Regions from separate parts of the Homo sapiens genome. Here region 1 is linked to region 2. The links are contacts of gene promoters, found by promoter capture Hi-C in human tissues and cell types (Jung and others, 2019). All regions are on one chromosome and are shown on one strand. The core of a region is centred on a gene start or on the middle of the fragment in contact, and the rest is flanking DNA. Distances in the headings are between cores, read along the strand shown.

Region 1 (4,180 bases), core at 1,091-3,590, 150 kb before region 2:
GTCATGTGTCCAGGTCACTGAAATCTCTGTGCTTATCTCTACTTGATATATTTGGCTCATTTCAACTCTGAGATCATCCTGTCCATAAAGAGAGCAAGAGCTTACCCAGTCAGCATTAGGTCAGTCTTGCTTCTCATTCAACTCTGATGTTGAAATCTGGTTCTGATAAACAGAGTTAGGCTTTGTCCAGTTGTGCACAGGCCCCAGCACTGCAGTCCACATCTAATAACTAGACCACTAGCTTTGGTATCACAAGGAGGACCCTGTCTGATGTCCTTCCTATTACCACAGTTCCTCCAGGACTGGAACTGTGCTTTCAGAGAAGTGAGCCCTGACTCTGGCCCCACACTGGGCCACTGCTTTCTGCGTCCAATTCCCTGCAGGATCAGACACCACTGGGCTCCATGGACCTCCTGCTACTGCCCCCTGCTGGGTCCTTGCCTGTGCTGGCTCTGATCCTACGCAACTGTTTGCCTTCTGCGTTCTTGTACCCCCTGATTTGACCCATCCCATCATCAACCAGGTTGCCAACTGTTTTTAATCACCCTAAGTTTTAAATTGTTTTTACTGCAAGAATTTCAGTTTTATTTGGTGGTAAAAGAATTTTTTAAAGTCAATAAAGTATTAATCAGAGAAATTGGAACAATGACCGGATATTATGTTAGGTATGATAATGGTAGTGCAGTTATGCCTTTAAAAGAGTCTTTATTTAAGAGAGTCCTTAGAGCTCATACTGAAATATTTGTGGGTGAAAATTATATGATGCCTGAAATTTGCTTTAAAAACATCCAGTGTAGGAGGGGAAGGGGACACAGATAAATCCCAATTGGCCATAAGTCGATAATTACTAAGCTGGGTGACAGGTACGTGGAAATGACTTACACTAGACTCTTTACTTTTATACATTAACATTTTACTTTTACTTTTATACATTAACATTTAAAAATAAATAAGTAAAAGGATTCGTACATTGGCTAACTAGGTGCAAAAAATGAAGTTAGATAGACCATACCTACAGTAAATTCCAGATCAATTAATCAATATGAGTGACACCAGGGAAGAACCAGAGGAAAATATAGGTAAATGTTTACCTGATCTCAAGGTGAAAAATATCCCTTCAAGAATAAAAGGAAAAAAAAAAACTATAGAGGAAAAACTTAGTTGATATGATTATATAAAAATTAAGAAAGGTTCTACATTAAAAACAAAAAAAAATCCTTTTAACAGGATAGCAACAAACTGGGAAAGATAGTTAAAACATATTATATAAGGTAAGCATTATTATACTTGATGTAAAAAGAGCTTTTTTGAAATAGGAGAATAACACCTCAATATAAAAAGTGTCAAAAGACATGAATGGGAAATTTACTTAAAAATACACATATGTGGCCAAAAAGATTAAAACCTCAATCTCAGCCAGGCACAGTGGCTCATGCCTGTAATGCCCACAGTGTGGGAGGCCAAGAAGAGAGGATCACTTGAGGCCAGGGGTTCAAGAGCAGCCTGGGCAATATAGCAAGACCCCATCTGTACAGAAAAAAATTAGCCAGGCATGGTAGCTAAAAATAAAAAAATTAGCCATGCCTGCAGTCTCAGCTACCTGAGAGGCTAAGGTGGGAGGATGGCTTGAGTCCAGGAGTTTGAGGCTACAGTCAGCTATAATCATGCCACTGCACTCTAGCCTGGGCAAGAGTGAGACCCCATCTCAAAAACAAAACTAAAGTAAACTAAACAACAACAACAAAAACCCTCAATCTCAATAAAAATAAGAGCTACCATTTTCGATCCATCAGCTGTGCAAATTTTTGAAAATGAAAACACTTGGCATACGTAGAGCAGAAAACAGGCACACCCGTTCATCGTATTAGGGTGGTGACATGATGCCACCTTTCCTGGGAGGAATCTGGCAATGGGCATCAAAGGACTAAGATAAGAATAGTTAGAGTCTTTGACCTGACAATTCTAATTTGGAAATTTATCCTTAGGGAATGAGTAGACAGAAATATATTGATGCTCAGTGATGTTTGTTACAATGTTATTTATAATAATAACACACTGTAATCTCAGCACTTTGGGAGGCCAAGGAGGGGGAATTGCTTGAGCTCAGGAGTTTGAGACCAGTCTGGGCAACATGGTAGAGCTCCATCTCTACTTAAAAAAAAAAAAAAAAAATTCAACTGGGTGTGGTGGTGCACGCCTGTGGTCCCAGCTACTCTTGAGGCTGAGGTGGGAGGATTGCTTGAGACTGGAAGGCAGAGACTGCAGTGAGCCAGATCACACCACTGTATTCCAGCCTGAGTAACAGAGCAAGACCCTGTCTCAAAAAGCAACAATAATAATAAAACACTGAAAACAAATGGAAACATCCAAAATAATGATTTGGTTCATTCACAGCATATGGTACAGCTCATTCACAAGACAGAATACTATATAGCCACAACACACGCTACAACTAATGTATATTATACTCAAAATGAAAGCATGAGTGCCTTCCCATATCCTGGAATATTTGTTGAAAACATGATTTCATGGCTACTACATATTCTCTCTAGAATTCACACTTATAAACACTCATAGGTTAATACGTATCTCAAAATGTTATTGGTGGTTGCTGCTGAATAGTAGGGCTCAGCATGCTGATTCCCTTTATCATACTTTTCTGGATTTTACAAAATTTTGACAATGAGCTTATATTGCTTTAAAATCAGAAAAATAAGGCAATAATAGACTCAAAACAATTACAAAATCAGAAAAATGAATGACACTAAAGAAATTTAGACTTGGGGAAAGATGCCAAAAAGGATCTGGCATACTCTGTGGACTCCCTCATGTGATCCATGATGAATTCAAAGCACATGGGGATGGGCACATCCAGGGTCGCATAGTCAATCAGGCAACAGCCCAGCCCAGCCTCTGACTCCAGGATCTTGTCAGCGCCTGCCCCTCTCAGAGGTGTCTTTGTGGACACATGTGGTACTCAGTGGTTTGACACATGCAGGCTGATCAAGGAATGCATCTGGTAAACTGCTAGGTTAAGAACCTAACAGATCCTTGGCTGGGCATGGTGGCTCACGCCTGTAATCCCAGTACTTTCGGAGGCCGAGGTGGGCAGATCACCTGAGATCAGGAGATCAAGACCAGCCTGACCAACATGGTGAAACCCCGTCTCTACACAAAACACAAAAAATTAGCCAGGTATGGTGGCACGTGCCTGTAGTCCCAGCTACTTGGGAGGCTAAGGCAGGAGAATTGCTTCAACCCGGGAGGCGGAGGTTACAGTGAGCCAAGACCACGCCATTGCACTCCAGGCTGGGAGACAGAGCAAGACTCTATCTCAAAAAAAAAAAAAAAAAGAACCTAACAGATCCTGTACTTTCTTCTCAAAAGCTTGATGGATATCATGAGGCAAGTGAAGCACTAGAAGCAAAAGTATACTTTACTGACATCTACATACATTATTATTAGACCTGTGATGCTTTTCACACTTGCTGCATTATATATAAGCCTGCTGGTTATTTACATTTAAAAAAATCCCCCACAGTGCCGCACATAGTACTATGGATATAATGATGTCTAATAGAGCCTTTTGCTGTTGCTGTTTTTTGTGCTTGCTTTTGTTGTTGTTTTTTCTAAAAATAAAAACAAAAACAAGAAAACTGTAACTATAATATTTATCATTTTAATTGATGTGTATAGTTTTACAAAATCAAATAGTAATAGAAACAAAATAGCATCCCTTGTGCCTCCCCTCCCTATTGCTCCCTGGTCTTATACAGTCATAAGAAGTCACAAGAAACCACGTACAAATTGTTAAGCCATTTCTTCTGCCATTTACCTTCCAATTCCTAAGGAGTATGCATGTGCTGTTATTTATTTTAGACATTATCTTTTTTCTCCCTGTCTTGACAGATGTTATCTAACTCAAGTGCACTTTGCTCTCCCTCCCCCATTCCCCTGGTGTAAGCATACCACACAGTCTTTGAGTTCACATTATTATTTGTGTCATATAGATACTGTTCACATGAGCCAGGAAGAGTACAACTTTTTTCTTAAATTATCACCTCTCAAAAAATAACTTTGTTGTCTACATACGTGTCTTCCAATGAGCCAGAAGACTCCCTATGTCAGCAAATCCACTGGTGCCATGACTTCCCACTGAGCCCCCTGACTTCCTGTTCTG
Region 2 (4,136 bases), core at 457-2,956:
TAATAGTAGACAATGGCTTAAGAGTTACTTCTTTCCCAGAACTTCAGTATGTAAAAAAAAAAAAAAAAAAAAAATTCCAGGCTTTCACCCAGGAGGAAGGGAACCAGTGACAACCGGAATTCAGGTAGGAAGGCCTATTGCAGGCCATCCTGGCCAGTCCAGAGGTGTGGGAGCTGGGGGTCTCCTGCTCTTTCCTCTCCCTCTATGGCCAGCTACTTCTCCCCCCGCCCCCTTCCCCAGTGCCCAGTGCTTTGGGCACTGCCCTGAGTCTGTATCCACGGGGTCACTTGTTGGGGGTGGGTGGCTGACTCTGAGGGTAGATTTTGGCTCAGTAGGAGGAAGGACCTTAATTGAGCCGCCTGCGGTGGAGCAAACGGCCCCTTGGCAGCTGCAGGTGGGCGGTGATGGTGAGGGGCTGAGGGGCTAAGGAGCCTTGTCATGGATGCTGCTAGGAGACTGAGCCAGGTTTCCTGTCCGGAGATTCTGGAATTCCGAGCAGGGGTGGCCCACATTTCCCAGCACGATGCGGATTTTGCTGAGGGAGGATGGGGAGAGAAAGAGGGTGAGGGAGGAAGGGCGGGCAGGGATGTGGCCCCTGCCCAGCGCGGATGCCCCAAGGATGCAGCGCTGGCGAGGCAGGGAAGTCCTCCTCTAGAACGCGTGCAAGTGACCCCTCAGAGCGCACCTCCGCTTCTCCTCCCCACCGTGGGGGCTCAGTTCCCTGGACACGGGGGCCAGGGTTCCCATACTCCTCGCCCCTTAGGTCACGGGCCTGGGGGGCTCAAATGCCAGGGAGCTCTCTCTTGACAGAGCTGACCAGCCCGGCCCCTTAGGTCACGGGCCTGGGGGGCTCAAATGCCAGGGAACAGAGCTGACCAGCCCGTGCCAGCGCACTCCCGGCCCGGGCTTCTGTCCTCTTCCTCTGGGGCTGAGCATCAGGGAAGTCCGCGGGATCCTGCGAGGGAGGCGGCAGTCCCCAGCCGAAAATGAGGGGAAAGAGGAAGTGGTGTCCCAACCAGAAACTCAGTGGGGAACGGAGGGAGGCAGCGCGGCCGAGGAGGAGGAACACCCCCACCGTGGTGGGGGTCAGAAGAAAGTTAGGGCCAAGTATTTGCTTGTCGGCCTTCTAGACTAGGAAGGCTCTCCTGCGGGCTCCACTCCCGCACCCCGCGTCTCTCCTTCTGCCTTGCCCGGGTTCCCCCAACTTATCTTATCCTCGGGGTCCCGCCCACCTTCTCCCCGGGGTCCCACCCCACTTTCAGTCTCAAGGCTCCCCCAGCTCACCTTCGCGCCCGCGGACCCCTGGGTCTACCTTCAGCCTTGGGGGCCCTTCTCGGCCTATCTTCCACCTTCGAGATCCCCCCACCCGCCTTCTCCCCCGGCAGGGTCCCCCCGGCCGTCTTCTCCCCCGGCAGGGTCCCCCAACCCACCTTCTCCCCCGCAGGGTTCCCCAGCCCGCCTTCCCGGCGGCGGGAGCGGCGGCCCAGGCCGGCGGGCGGAGGCGGCGCCACCCGGGGCGCTGACGTAGAGGCCGCTCGGCGGCCGGGGGTCCCTTCGGTGGGGCCGCGGCTCCCCGCCCGCCGCCCCCGCGCGTCCATTCCCTTTTGTGTCCCGCGCGCGGCCCGTCCCCCGCGCACACTAGCGCCCTGAGCCCCGCGGGCCGGCGGGCGGCTCCCGGCGCGGCCCCTCCAGCCAGCGCGCCCGGCATTGTGTGGACGCGCCTGGCCGGGAGCGCGCGCGGGGGCTGTCGTGCGCCCCCGTCCCCGTCCCCTCCCGGCCGCGGCGCCGCCTGCGCCCCGCCGCCCCCGCCGCCCCCGCGCGGCCCGGCCCCCGGCCCGGCCCGGACCGACCCGGGCAGCGCAGCGGCGGGGCCGAGCGGCGGCGCGGCGCGGCAACATGGCGACGGTGCCCGTGTACTGCGTCTGCCGGCTCCCCTACGACGTTACCCGCTTCATGATCGAGTGCGACGCCTGCAAGGACTGGTTCCACGGCAGGTGAGCGCGCGGCGGCTGCTCGGCTCGGCCCGGCCCGGCCCGGCCACCTTGCCCGACCGAGCCCCGCGCCCCCGGCTGCGCGCCCGCAGGCCCGGCTCGGGGACGGGCCGCCGCCGCCGCCGCCGCATTCCGGGCGCCCCGGTCGGGGCTGGGCCGTGCCGGGCCGCGCGCCCTTTTGTGCCCAGGGCGGGGGCGCCAAGCACGGGGCCCGCGCTGGGCGCCCCTGGCCGCCGCGCACAAAGCGAGGCCCGCGGGCCGGGAGGTGGGCTCGGGGCTCGGGGCGCGGGGAAGTTGGGGCTCCAGGCCCGGGCCGGGCCGCCTGTCAGCTGGGTCGCGGCGGCCGCAGAGGCCGGGCATCCGGAGGGAGGCCGAGGCCCGGAGCCCCCGCCGCCTCCCCCCTGCGAAGTTGCAGGAACTTTCCCCGCGCGGGCTCGGGGTTGGCCGGGCCGGGAGAAGCGGGCGCGCAGCCCGGCGCGGGTCCCGGGAGAGGCGCGAGTGGCGGGCTCCGACTCCGGCAGGGCTGGGGAGTCCGTGGGGGCTCCGGCGAGGTGGCAGCCGGCGCGCCCACCCTCCGCCGTGGCCGGCGAGCTCCCTTGGACCTTGTCCCCGAGGGCAGGACCCCTCCCGGACCCCCGCGGAGCAGCTAGACCCGGCAGGCCTGCAGGTCCGCGGGCAGGAGTGCGGTGACAGAATAGTGTCTGTGAGTTGGGTAAGGGGGGTTTGTTGTGGCTTTGCCACCTCCTCCCTGGCCTTCAGTTTTCCCCGTTTCTCTCCTCTCCGTTCCCGGCAGGAACGCCGGTTTTGACATGATCTTATGCTCCCTAAGGAAGATGGGGAGGGGGGAAGGAGGTAACGCTTGGAGACACTGAAAACCCCCGCCCTCTTGGCCCTTGCCGATGGCCATGACCTGGCCCCATGCCTAGGGCAGGTCCCTTCCCACCAAGAAGTAAATGGAGGAGGAGGAAGAGGAGGTGACAGTGTTGCCCAAACTGCTCCAACAGGTTCTCTTGCATCTGACTTTGCCTGTGGGATGTGTTTGGACCCGGGGCTGGCCAGGGCTGTATGCCCTCTGGGGCTCCAGTCCCAAACCACCGGCAGCAAGCAGCCGGGGGAAAGAGAGGGGTGTGTGGTGGTGGGTGGTCCGGGATTCTCCTTCCAGAGAGGAGATCCTCCTGCAGGTTCTAAGACTGGGTCTTCAAGACTGGTCAGTGGTGCTTAAGAGTGGGCTGTGGCCCCAAGTCCAGTCCTGCCAGTTTACATGTGGGGACCTGGGTGGCTGGGATGTGACAGGGCCTGCTATGTCTGTCAGCCCCAGTCCTGAGTCCTACCTCCCTGCTGTTAGAAGGGCCTGGGACTCTGTGGGGTGGGGATGCCCACGGAAATCTGGGCTGCCTTCCTGGGTATGCCCAGGGCTGTGGAAGCCCCTTAGAGCAAGGGAGACTGAGTGTGAACACCGGGCTCTGCCCAGAACAGGGCTGACATGCACACCCTCAACTGGCAGCCGTTGAGAAGTTCATGGCCGGGCCAAAGTGAGTGAGAGCCTCTAAGGCTCCTCATATCCAGGGATGCTGAGCTGCTGGCCCTGAAAAGCCCTGAAAGTGGTGGGGCCTCTGCCTTCTCCCCCATCTCCACCGGAGCCCTGACCTGGCGAGCGCAGTCACTCTGCTACAGAACCTTCTGGGCACCTGTGTCAGCTCCTGGCTGCTGCCCACACTCGGGGCCCAGAGTAGGGAGAGTGAGAGAACGCGAGAAGACCTTTGTCTCGCTGCTTAGGGGACCCTCTGGGAAGGGAAGGCTAGTTCTGAACTAGACTTCGAGGCCAAGGGAAAAACTCCAGGAATGAGGGGCAGGCAGGCGACAGGGGCTGAGAGCTGGCCTGAGAGCTGGTTGGTGTCATTTGCTGTATTGGCCCATGCAAAAAATCCCCAAAAGGGGGATGTCTGGGGAGGCTCTAGCTCCTTTTTTTCTTATTTGAGGTCTCTGATTGAATCCAATACAGGCAGTTGATCAGCACAGATTTATTCTCACCTATTTGGGGTGGCTGTGGGGTCTGAAAGAAGCTGTGCTTTCCCTCGGCCATGAAAGTCATTTTCTCCTGCATCTAACCAAGAGTCATCTGCCAAAGTGAACCCTACAGGGAGA

Evidence for each region. The method cuts DNA at HindIII sites, captures the fragments that hold promoters and counts their contacts. A contact is called where the count stands out against the background at its distance.
Region 1: a contact is called between a fragment that was not itself captured here and the fragment with the promoter of PHF2 in region 2, in 1 of the 25 tissues and cell types used here (spleen).

The regions. Positions count from the first base shown.
Region 1 is chr9:93,427,754-93,431,933 of GRCh38, forward strand. It overlaps LOC107987097 (a long non-coding RNA gene), which reads right to left. Exons shown (of 2, transcript XR_007061670.1): 2 at 3,658-4,180. Among named protein-coding and RNA genes, the nearest start is that of FAM120A, 22 kb to the right of the region's middle. The HindIII fragment of the contact is 9,352 bases long and covers 1-4,180 here.
Region 2 is chr9:93,574,878-93,579,013 of GRCh38, forward strand. It overlaps PHF2 (PHD finger protein 2), which reads left to right and starts at 1,707. Exons shown (of 22, transcript NM_005392.4): 1 at 1,707-1,994. The coding sequence starts at 1,897. RefSeq lists enhancers at 14-609, 610-1,204, 886-1,165, 3,347-3,496 and silencers at 1,266-1,325, 1,436-1,735, 2,326-2,485. The HindIII fragment of the contact is 6,548 bases long and covers 571-4,136 here.